3 separate regions of the Homo sapiens genome follow, and regions 1 and 2 are each linked to region 3. Evidence: promoter capture Hi-C in human tissues and cell types (Jung and others, 2019). All regions are on one chromosome and are shown on one strand. The core of a region is centred on a gene start or on the middle of the fragment in contact, and the rest is flanking DNA. Distances in the headings are between cores, read along the strand shown.

Region 1 (3,913 bases), core at 476-2,975, 150 kb before region 3:
CCCCACAGGAGCCAGGAGCTGCAGCACAGGTCAGGAGCAGCCCTGCAAGCCTGCGGGGAGAAGGGAGCCGCCCCTGGTCCCCTTCTCCAGAAACCCCAGACTGGGGGTGAGGGTGTCTGGTGTGGGTGGCCGGGAGTTGGTGCTACACATTGAACAGGGTCGTTCCGGCACCGTCTCTGTCCGCTCATGCAGACAAGGATCAGATTTGCACACCCCAAGTGCAAGGGGACACCTGGGGTGCCCTCTGCAGCGCCTCCCTGCGGGGCAGCCCTTCTGTGGGGTGCTCTGTGAGGAGGGCCTGGGATCCGGTCTGCAGGAAACTGGATGGAGCGGGCCAGGGCCTGACCGTCTCCCCCACCCCAGCCCCAGGCCTTCCCCTCCCCATGCCTGTATGGGTGATCCCACCCCAGTCCACCTGGCTTGCCAGTGAGGTTTGCAACGCCTTCTCTTCAAGCCTTTGAGTAGACTAATTTGTACAGAATTTGCCAGAATTGACAACCTGCAGGTATGATTTCCAAAAATTTAACTGGCTTTTATCACCTGCCCTAGGACCAAGAAGCTTGACCTTTTCTCCCCAACTGCTAAATCGCCAGTCCTTTGGAGCAACAGTGTCCTCTACATAAAGGAGCAGTTAGACTAATTTAAAACAGTATTGACCTTTCCTTCCTGCCCTTTTCATTTTGACTAAATTACAGGGTGCGGCTCTGCAATTCGCCTTCCGGTCTGTGAGTGACTCCGAGTCAGCACCCACCTTGCCTTGCTGCTTAATCAAGGAGAGTGCTGCTGCTGGTGATGCAGGGCAGGGCACCAACGCCCTGGGGCGATGCAGGGCAGGGCACCATCCACCAACGCCCCGACCCAGCGTCTCTCGTGGGGTCAAGGTTACAAGGAAGGCGGGCCAGGGGCGAGGCCTGCCTCTGTCCACAGGCAGACACGGATGCCGAGGCTGGAAGGACCTTCCTGGCCCTCTCCTAACGGAGGCCCCGAGAGGGGAGGAGGCTGCAGGGATCATCCAGCCCCTCAGGGCAGCACTCAGACCAGCCTCAGGGCCATCAGCCAGGACGGCCGGTATCCTTGACTCTTGCTTCAGGTCCCAACACTCTATTTCAAGGGGATGCTGGGCCCTCCCCAATAACTCCCCACCGTGTCCCAGGAGAGCCTCCAGCTGGCCAAGAAGCCTCACCTGGCTCACAGCTTTGCTGCCCTTAAACTGAGGTCACAACAGGCCCTGGTGTCAGTGCAGCCTTGGCTCCCAAGGGTGACACATCCGCGCCTTTCCGTGGATCCCAGGCTGGTGTGGGGAGGGTGTCAGGTGGGCAGGTGGGCTGCCAGGATGGCTGGCACAGGGGTTCCTGGGGCCTGGGACATCCAGGGATGGGAACGGGCAGGTGTCCTGGGGAAGGGAAGGCTGGCCCGAGTGTCGCTGAGGCCTTGAGAATGCCCTGAGCAGAGGGAACAAAGTGTCCTGGAGGGCGGCCCAGCCAACGCCTCCCGCAAGGGTCCAGTGGAAATGTAAAAGCATCTTGGGGGCCAGGCGCAGTGGCTCACGCCTGTAATCCCAGCACCTTGGGGTCCTGGCGCAGTGGCTCACGCCTGTAATCCCAGCACCCTGGGAGGCCAAGGTGGGCGGATCACAAGGTCAGGAGATCGAGACCATCCTGGCTAACACTGTGAAGCCACGTCTCTACTAAAAATATAAAAAATTAGCCAGGCGTGCTGGTGGCATGCTCCTGCAGTCCCAGCTACTCAGGAGGCTGAGGCAGGAGAGTTGCTTGAACCCAGGAAGCGGAGGATGCAGTGAGCAGAGATCGTGCCACCGCACTCCAGCCTGAGTGACAGAGTGAGACTTCATCTCAAAAAAAAAAAAAAAAAAAAAAGCGAGGCAGGGGGAGCGGCCAGGTCTTTCGTCTAAGAAACATGCTCAGCTGATGACAGGGCCTATGAGTCTCAGTGGCCTGGCATGAGCATCTACTACATGCCTGAGCACCTACTGTGTGCCTGAGAGCCTACTGTGTGCAGCCCCCTCAACCCCAGGCACTTCCCAAGCAGAACATGTGACTGAGGGCTCCCAGATGTGGCTCCCGCCACCTTGGCAGCTCACTGATGGCTTACAGAGCACTCCTGGTCTTGGCGTTTAATACATATAATGAATTTATAGCACCCAGTGTATATTGGAAATAGTTTAACTTATCAATTCCCTGAGTCACTCACAATCCCCTTTTTCAATTTCCTGAAGCTACTTGGTTTGAGCCAATACTCCAGTCATGACCCAGCGTGGGCAACCTTTTCCTGTAAAAGCCAGATCACCAGTCAATGTTTGTCCCCGGGGGACATTTGACAGTGTCTGGAGATATTTTTAATTGTTATAATTAAACGTATAATAGGGAGAGGATGCTACCGCCATCCCATGGGTGAGGCCGGGGAAGCTGCCACGCTGCCACAGTCAGAGCAGCCCCCACCAAGACCCTCGGTCCCAGATGCCAGCAGCGCACGGCTGAGAGCCTGGCCCGCGGTCCTGAGGGCACACTGGGAGCTGAGTGTTGCACCGCATAACAACGGGGGCTTTGGGTAAATCTCCCCAGCCTCCGTCTGGTCGCCCGCACCCAGGGACGATCTCCCCAGCCTCCGTCTGGTCGCCCGCACCCAGGGACGATCTCCCCAGCCTCCGTCTGGTCGCCCGCACCCAGGGACAATCTCCCCAGCCTCTGTCTGGTAACCTGCACCCAGGGACGATCTCCCCAGCCTCTGTCTGGTCACCTGCACCCAGGGACAGAGATGGCATCTTGGGTGGGTGTGGCTCATCGCAGCATATGTGTGAGTGACTAAGTTCCGGGAGGACGCAGGCCTGCCTGACAGGTGCTGGTACTTTTCCAGGCCTGGGGGTGGCGTGACTGACACACAGGTGCCTCCCGCTCTTGGGGTTACCTGTGGGGTTGCCGTGAGGCCGAAGTCACAAGTGAGTTGAACAGCCTGGGGCACAGGTGTGGTGCAGGTGGCCCAGCCTGCAGGCCAGGTTGTGACAGAGGCAGTCTCTGCAGCCAGTTCTCACCCTAATGTGCTGGCAGCCAGCCCTGCCGAAACCCCAGCGTGTCAGGAAAAGAACAACTTTCTCAGAATGTGCTTCATGCTCAAAAACGGGCCCCATCAAGCAGGTCCCCTGGTGCGAGGTCTCGGGGCGCCCTGCCTCTGGGCTTCCGGTGTTGCTCTCGGGGTCTAGCCGTGCTCAGTAGGGAAGTCAGGGTCAGGTGCAGTGGGAGGCTTATCCCAAAGGAGGCCAGCTACTCTCCCACTAATGTATAATGATGTGGTCACAACGACTCCATATTTATACAGTAACTACCCACCCTAGGGTTTACCTGATGATTTTGCTTGGAGTTAGCATGTGAATCAGGGTATAATTACCCCGCATAATTGTTCAATCTCATAGTAACACTTTAATTTGCAAAGCAAAAATAACCATGTGATTACCCTGCAATTACATGATAGTTACTATTCAATTACTTCTATAGAGTTTGCGGTATGTTTACAGACTGGCTAATGCCCATGTGCCCTTCCCTGAGTAGTACCATGTTCTCAGGTGCCTGGGTGACAACTGTCTGATGAGCTATGTCTGTCATCAGCAAAGCTCAAGTCAGCTCTGGGTCCCCAGCTCGGGACCCTCTCCCAGCAAGCTCCGGGGGCTGCCTGAGACCCCAGCCTGCAGGTGCTCCCGCCTCACCACCACCGCCGCCAGCCTCCCCACCCCTTCCACTCTCAGGACGCTCTGAGCCTGAGCCCGGTGCTGGGCAGGTGTTCTGATCGCACCTGTTACACCACAGCTGCAGCCCAGGTGCTGGAGACGCTCATCATTGCAGCAAGAGGAACAATGGCAGCCTCTGCTCAGAGCCTCCACCTGCCTGGTCCTGTAAGGAAA
Region 2 (3,571 bases), core at 1,041-3,540, 190 kb after region 3:
TCAGCTGGGATGCCTGCCGTGCTGATTGGGGTGTCAGGCCTGCTCAGTGTGAGGTGCTCAGTCAACACAAGTTCAGGAGGTCCGGCCCTATCCCGGCTGCCCGGAAGACATGGCCACCCCTGGCTGCTGTTGTAAGCTGGCCCTCAGCCTGCCCCCGACCCTGCCTCTGACTGGGAAGAAGTTTGCAGACTCCCCTACTTTCATGAGTCCCTCCCGAGGGTCCCGCCTGTACACAGCAAGGAACACAACCACTGGGGTGTCCCAGCTGTGGCAAAGGCCCTAGGCTCTAGGTTCCCAGGTCTGGACATGTTGTGTGCATGGCTGAGGCCCACAAGCACGTGGCTGCCCCACCCCAAGGCCCGTCCTGTGGGAGAGTCAAGCCCTGGCCTTGTAGCTGTGTGCAGACAGTTCTCCTAGGTCCTGACAGCTCACACTAATAGAGGCCCCTTCCTCCCTCCCACCCCAGCTACCTCTCAGAGCATTGAAAGGTATAGGGCCCCTGTTATCAGCACCTGGAGCCCCCACTCCCCACCTCTAGCTTCCACATCAACCCACAAGGCTGGGTCATCATAGCTACCCTGCACCTGATCCGAGTCCTGGACAGGGTAGAGGTCCTGCCCAAAGACTCCAGCGCAAGGGGGGCTGTGCCTGGATTTGAGCCTGGCCTGAGCTGAGTCCCGCTCCTTCTGCGACTCCTGGCTGAGACGTGACTCTGTAGGCACTGGCAGGGTGGCTGTGACTTCCCCAGATGGGCAGTGGCCTAGCCTCCTCCTCAACCAGAGCTGCTGCTCAGAACAGGAAGGGGACATGTCTGCGGACTGGCAGCAGCAGAACCAGCCAGGACGGCCATGGCCCGGCTTCCAATGGAGAAACCGGCACCCCTCCCTGGGGCAGTGGAATAACAGCCATCAATGGCTTTAAAATCTTCCTTGGCCTTCGGTTCTTTGTAAGATGCTCTTCTCTGCAAGCCAGATCTTGGCGTCTTTGGCTGCCACACTTGCGGGTTCGATCCTGTGCCGGGGACGGAGGCTGCCCCCTCTCTGCCAAGCTGCCCGGGATCCTCATGCTGAATTTCTGATTCCAAGAAGCTTTTGGGTGTCTTGGAGAAGCGGCCTGTACTAGCTCTGTGGCTGGTGGCTGTGATTGCGGTAGAAAGTCCAGGGGTATCTGCCGTGGGATTCCCTGGGCTGGGCTGCAGGGGCCACCTCCCTCCCAACCTCCTGCCACAAGGGAGGGCAGAGCCACATGGCCTCAACAGTCCAAGTCAGGATGGTCCCGGTGAGGACAATCCTCGCCGTGTCTCGCTAATGAAGGCGGCGGTGGCCATGGGACAGGGCAGCCACTGAGAGGTGCTGGGGTCGTGGGAATGTCGGCAGGTTTTCTCCCTGGCCCCCTCTGGGCACCGGCTGAGGCACCTCTGGAGGTCCTTCCTGCTCCCATCGAAGCTCCCGGCTCCACTCAGAAGCACTCAGAGGCCTTCAGGAAGGAGGCGGCCTGAGTTTACCCTCACATTCCATTTGAGCAGAGTTCTGCTAACAGATCAGAGGACATGCATGGAGAGGGGGCACTCAAACCCCCGGGAGGCAGCATCCTGCACCTGCCAGCCCAGCGCCCCTTGCTCGTGCCACCTGTGTGGGCTCCTGAGAGCCACCACCACCGCTGCTGACCCTGGCTGGGTGGCGGGTCTGTTCTGCCCTCCCCTGCTTGGGCGTCCGGATCTGAGGCCGTCCCGCGTCCCTCCTGTTCTCCTGCTCTGGCCGAAGTCCACCTTCTGCAGGACAACAAGGTGCTGGTGAGACTGGGGGCAGGTAAAAACTCCCTCTTCCCACTCCGGCTGCTGGGAGCGGGGACAGGGGAGGCCAGGCCCAGCCTCAGGAGATAAACCCATTCCCTGTGAGTCACCGCAGCCCGGGGATAGTTTAAACAGCACCAATGTATCCAACACAGATTTTAAATGTCAAAACATTTAAAATACCAACCTCACCAACACGGCTGGCTGCAAAAATAGCTACCTCTGGGGGCTGGTGGGTTGTAGGGTCTGGCCCCGGCCCCCTGGCTGCCCCCGTTGGAGGATCCTGCCGTTTCCAGAGGGAGGGAACAGAGTCTGCCGCAGGGCCACGTGTGGGGACAGAGGCGGGGCCTTGCAGAGGAAGTCTGGCCCTCCCCCGCCTCCCCCACCTGCCCACCCTGGAGACTGAAGCCGAGTAGGATTGGGGGGTGAGGGGAATGCACCCCGACTCCTGGGGCCGGCCTTCTCTTCCCAGACGCACAGCTGGAAGCAGGGGCTTTGGCTTGCGCCGTCCTTTCCTGTAATCTCTCCCGCTCTGGGTAAGGAGCTGCCCCCCACCTCCACAACAAGCAAAGGGAGCACGTCCATCGGCAGCGCGGGGACTCGGAGGAAAGCCTGCGATGCTGCTGGGGGTGAGGGGAGGTGAGGGGAGGACTGAGCGAGGGGAAGGACAGGCCCCTTCCTGGACAGAAGGACCCGTTGAGATCACGTCTGTGCATCCAGTCCCTATAAAACACGAGAGCTGTTGTGCATAGACACATGGACTCTACAGTTCAAGTGGGAAATAGTCTCAGAATGGCCAGAAAGGCTCTTGAAAGGCAGGTCGCTAGGACAAGGGAGCGTCAGCCTTGCCAGCCACTGGGATGTACCTGAGTGTCACTGAGAGTGACCTTAATGAGGAGAATTTGGCATCGACAGTGCCAGATCAGACAGAAGCTCCATCTGTGATGGAGACAGCATCCAGATCATCGGGGAGAAGACTGGCCACCCAGGCATGGCGCTGGACAGCTGACGGCCTGGACCACAGGAAGCTGGGTCCTCAGGGCCCCTGTCCCACCCGCCTCCTTCCCCTGGGGAGCCGTGCACCCTCCATCCCACTGGCATGTGGCCCAGACCTGGCCAATCAACACATCCCAAAAGGCCTGGGTAGGCCCTCATTGGACAGGTCAGCCAAACATTTGCATCAGTCACATTTGTCTGATGAGGGCCAGCCCCAAACCTTTGCTAGACACCAGCTTTGCCTGGGCTCACTGAGCAGGAAATGCATCCGTGGCCGTCAGTGCCGTTTTCCTACCTTTTAGAGAAGACCTGCCTAAGAATAAAGCCAGCACCGGTGAAGCGGGGCACCCCATGACATTGTTTGTGCTCCTGGGTCAAGCTGCGCCTGCAGCTATTATTCTTGGACTTTCAGTGTGTCTTGAGTGAAATAAATATTCCTTTTCTTAAGGGATAAGACAATTTGACTTAGTTCCTGGAGTTAGTACCCTAACTCATAGAGATCTTACCCCAAAAAAATTCCACATGGTAAGAAGATTAAAACCTAAAACCAAAAACCGTAACATTACTATAAGAAATCATGGAAGTTTTAAATTTAAATGTATATATTTTTAACCTTTTCCCCCAGCTTTATTGAGGGATAATTGACAAATAAAAATTGTATCTATTGGCCAGGTACCGTGGCTCATTCCTGTAATCACAGTATTTTGGGAGACTGAGGCAGGAAGATCCCTTGAGGCCAGGAGTTTGAGACCAGTCTGGGCAACACAGTGAGACCCCATCTCT
Region 3 (3,633 bases), core at 319-2,818:
AGAGCAAGGTGAGATCAAGATGCTTTGGCCAGAGTCAATGGCTGCTGCTAGACAGATTACCGGACAAAAGAGAGGGAAGAATAGAAGATGGTCACAGGTTTCAAGCATGAGAGGCCCTGCAAGATGGGGCCACAAATAAGGAGGAAGGACTGGAAGAAGAACAGGTTTGAGAAGCAGGGCAAGTTTGACGTGACTATTAGACATGCGTCTGGAGAAATCAAGCAGGTGTCTGAATTACAGATCCTGAGCTCAGAGCTGAAAACATGAATTAGTGAAATAAGGGGCGGGGGGGGCGGTGCTGGGGCACAGGGATATTTAAAGCCAAGAATTCAGCAAAGACCATAGGAAGAGCGTAGATAGGGAATGAGAATCGCCATTACTTGGAGGATGCCAACCTTGAAGGTAAAGCAGAGAAAGTGGCACCAGCAGAAGAAAACTTGATGTGGAGCGGCAGGTAAAGTGGAGGAGAAACCAGGAGTCGCTGTCACACACGAACACCCATCTTTCGTTGTCAACTGCAAAACTCACTGAGACCAACTTTTTATTCACGACAATTAATGGTAACTTAAGGACTCATTTTCTTTTTCTTTTTTTTTTGAGACAGAGCCTCGCTCTGTCGCCCAGGCTGGAGGGCAGTGGCGCGATCATGGCTCACCGCAGCCTCGACCTCCTGGGCTCAAGCGATCCTCCCACCTCAGCCTCCAGAGTAACTGGGACAACAGGAGCGCACCACTCTGCCTGGCTAATTTTTTTATTTTTAGCAGAGAAGGGAGTCTCGCTGTTGCCACGGCTGGTCTCGAACTCGCGGGCTCAAGTGATCCGCCCACTTCGACCTCCGCCACCGCGCCCGGCCCTAGGACCAACGTTAAGAGCTCCCTAGGAAAAGGCACCTTTTCTCTCGGCCCATTCGGTGATCGGCACTCACAGCGCTTCCACTCCGGGCAGTTACGTGCGCCCATGAAAAGCAACAACTTTGTAGAACTGGCCAGTCCTGTTAGCAGGAAGAACTCGGTAGTCTCAAACTCCAGCATAAAAAGATTCAGCAGAAGAAAACACCCGTGTGCTGAAGACTCCTACTTTCCATGCCACACTTTACATCCTCACCCGCTCGGTTTCTGCTTTAAAGCAGCAGATTTTATTAAAAAGACTTCGTTACGGACGTCGCTCCTCCACAGAGACAGCTACCGCCGCCCCTCAGGCTGGCCGGGACCGCCCCAGAACACCAGCGCCTGAGGCCGCGCGCCTGGAGGCTGAGCCCTGACTGCCCCCTGGGCACCGGCGCGGGGCGGCCGTCCGGGCCTGGACTCACTGCGCGCCCCAATTCCGCACCTGCCAGCGCCGGCGCTTCCAAGGCCCCCAGAGCGGGGGCGGCGCGCACCCCGGCCACATCCCGCCTGCCCGCCCGGCCCGGCCCCGGGAGACGCTCGGCCCGGCCGCCCGGGCCCGCCGCCGCCATCTTACCGTGCGGAACCTGCCTCCCGCGCTGCGCGGTCTGGGCGGCTGCGGCTCCGCAGCCTCTCCTGGGCTGGGGAGAGGTGGCGGCCGCCGGGGCGCCCGAGTAGAAGGAGGCAGAGGTGGGGGCCGCGGCGGAGGCGGGGGCGGGGGCGGGGGCGGGGAGCGGGAGGGCAGGCGCACCGGAGGCCGCCCCTCAGCACCTCTCGCGACAGCAAGAGAGCGCGAGAGCGCGAGCCGATGACCAATGAAGCGCCCCCGCGAGGGGGCGGGGCGGACGGCCTCCCGGAAGCGCGGAACCTCAGCTTCCGTACTTGCGCAGAACTCCCCTCGCGGCGACCACGCACTACGGGTTGGCGCCAGAGTCAAAAGGCGTCGGCCCTCTGGCAAGATGGCTGCTGCGGAGGCGTTGGAGCGCGGAAATCTGGAACCGGGATGGCGACGTCTACACTGAGTCGGAGGCGAAGGTCCCAGCTTTTTTCCTGTCGTTTGCGTGAGGCCGCACGGGGTGGGGCGGGGGAAAGGCGCCGGGTGTCCGCGGCCGCCCCTCAGACGGGGAGGGAGTCCCCTCCCGACCGGCGGCCTTCCAGGGCTAGTGTCCCTGAGGTCCAGGGAGAGACGGCTGACCCGAGACCGGGCTGGGCGAGAGCTGTGCTGTCTGCGCGTTGAAGCGAGTTCCCCCGCTTTACTCGAGATGTTGTTGAGCGCGTCCTCACTCGAGGCCAGGTGGGGAATCAGAAGGGCCCTGCCCTCAGGGCGCCTCCCATGGGCTACGCCGAAGGGCGGGACGCGGCCAGGGCGCGCGGGACAAAGGAGACCCCACTTGCTTGCGGGGCGGAGTCCCGGCGGCGGCGCGGGGCAGGGCCGGGGTTACTCGGTGACTGGAGACCCTCCCGGCAGGAGCGCGGGTTGAGGCCGCACTTGGGTATTTGCGCGTTTACTTGCTTATTGCCTGTCCGCTCAGGAGGAATGCGAAGTCTGTCATTGCAGGGTCCCATGTTTCCGTTGCTGGGAAGTACCTTAAAATATTTGATAGAGCCGAAGGAAGAAATAGAGTCCTTGAGGGGCAGCTCCTGATTTCATCTGTGAGGAATTCACGGGACGGCTTCTTTCTGAAGTCAGGGGTGAGGTGGTTTCGTGTGTTTGCTTACAAGCGAGCTGAACAACGTGTAAGCTATGTCGGTCGGTCTACTCAGCGACAGTAAGTCCAGTTCGGCAAATAGGTTGGAGGAGACTGATTTTGGACATTTTCCGTTAATCGAAAGAGCTAAATCTGCAGGTATAAGGTCTTGACAAAATTATGCTTCATATGCAGAGGCAGTACATGCCAGTAATTTTTTCATTTGCAACTACATAACCCTATGGGAAACAGTTATTGGTCTTTATTTAGTTATTTATTTTGAGACGAAGTCTCACTCTCGCCCAGGCTGGAGCGCAGTGGCGCCATCTCGGCTCACTGCAACCTCCGCCTCCCGGGTTCAAGCGATTCTCCTGCCTCAGCCTCCCGAGTAGCTGGGACCACAGGGGCGCACCACCACGCCCAGCTAATTTTTGTATTTTTAGTAGAGACGGGGTTTCCCCTTGTTGGTCAGGCTGGTCTCAGTGTCTTGACCTCGTGATCCGCCCGCCTCGGACTCCCAAAGTGCTGGGATTACAGGCGTGAGCCACCGCTCCCGGCCTATTTTGATTTTATTTTATTCTATTTTTTGAGAAGGAGTCTCACTTTGTTGCCCAGGCTGGAGTGCACTGTCATGATCTCGACTCACTGCAACCTCCGCCTCCTGGGTTCAAGTGATTCTCCTGCCTCAGCCTCCCGAGTAGCTGGAACTACAGGCACCCGCCACCACGCCCGGCTACTTATTTTGTATTTTTAGTACGGGTGGGGTTTCACCATGTTGGCTAGGCTGGTCTCGAACTCCTGACCTCAAATGATCACCCACCTCGGCCTCCCAAGGTGCTCGGATTACAGTCATGAGCCACCGCATCCGGCCTATTTTTATTTTTTAAAGTTTTTTAGAGACGGGGTCTTGCCTTCTTGCCCAGGCTGGTCTCGATCTCCTGGGCTCAAGCCATCCTCCCGCCTCGGCCTCTGGGAGTGCTGGGTTTACAGGCGTCAGCCACCATGCCCAGCCTGAACGTCAAGGAGAAAGTGTGCAAGGGGATGCACGAGCAGAAAGCTTG

Evidence for each region. The method cuts DNA at HindIII sites, captures the fragments that hold promoters and counts their contacts. A contact is called where the count stands out against the background at its distance.
Region 1: a contact is called between a fragment that was not itself captured here and the fragment with the promoter of GID8 in region 3, in 4 of the 25 tissues and cell types used here (H1 embryonic stem cells, IMR-90 fibroblasts, dorsolateral prefrontal cortex and 1 more).
Region 2: a fragment that was not itself captured here is called in contact with the fragment with the promoter of GID8 in region 3 in 2 of the 25 tissues and cell types used here (adrenal gland and spleen).

What each region holds. Positions count from the first base shown.
Region 1 is chr20:63,088,344-63,092,256 of GRCh38, reverse strand. No RefSeq gene overlaps it. Among named protein-coding and RNA genes, the nearest start is that of LINC01749, 10 kb to the right of the region's middle. The HindIII fragment of the contact is 3,451 bases long and covers 1-3,450 here.
Region 2 is chr20:62,751,060-62,754,630 of GRCh38, reverse strand. The region is part of intron 1 of NTSR1 (neurotensin receptor 1); the gene reads right to left. Among named protein-coding and RNA genes, the nearest start is that of NTSR1-AS1, 17 kb to the right of the region's middle. The HindIII fragment of the contact is 7,649 bases long and covers 1-3,571 here.
Region 3 is chr20:62,936,082-62,939,714 of GRCh38, reverse strand. It overlaps GID8 (GID complex subunit 8 homolog), which reads right to left and starts at 1,568. Exons shown (of 5, transcript NM_017896.3): 1 at 1,462-1,568. It also overlaps a transcript of DIDO1 not described here. RefSeq lists silencers at 1,198-1,327, 1,398-1,627, 1,998-2,047, 2,318-2,367 and an enhancer at 834-1,502. The HindIII fragment of the contact is 10,021 bases long and covers 1-3,633 here.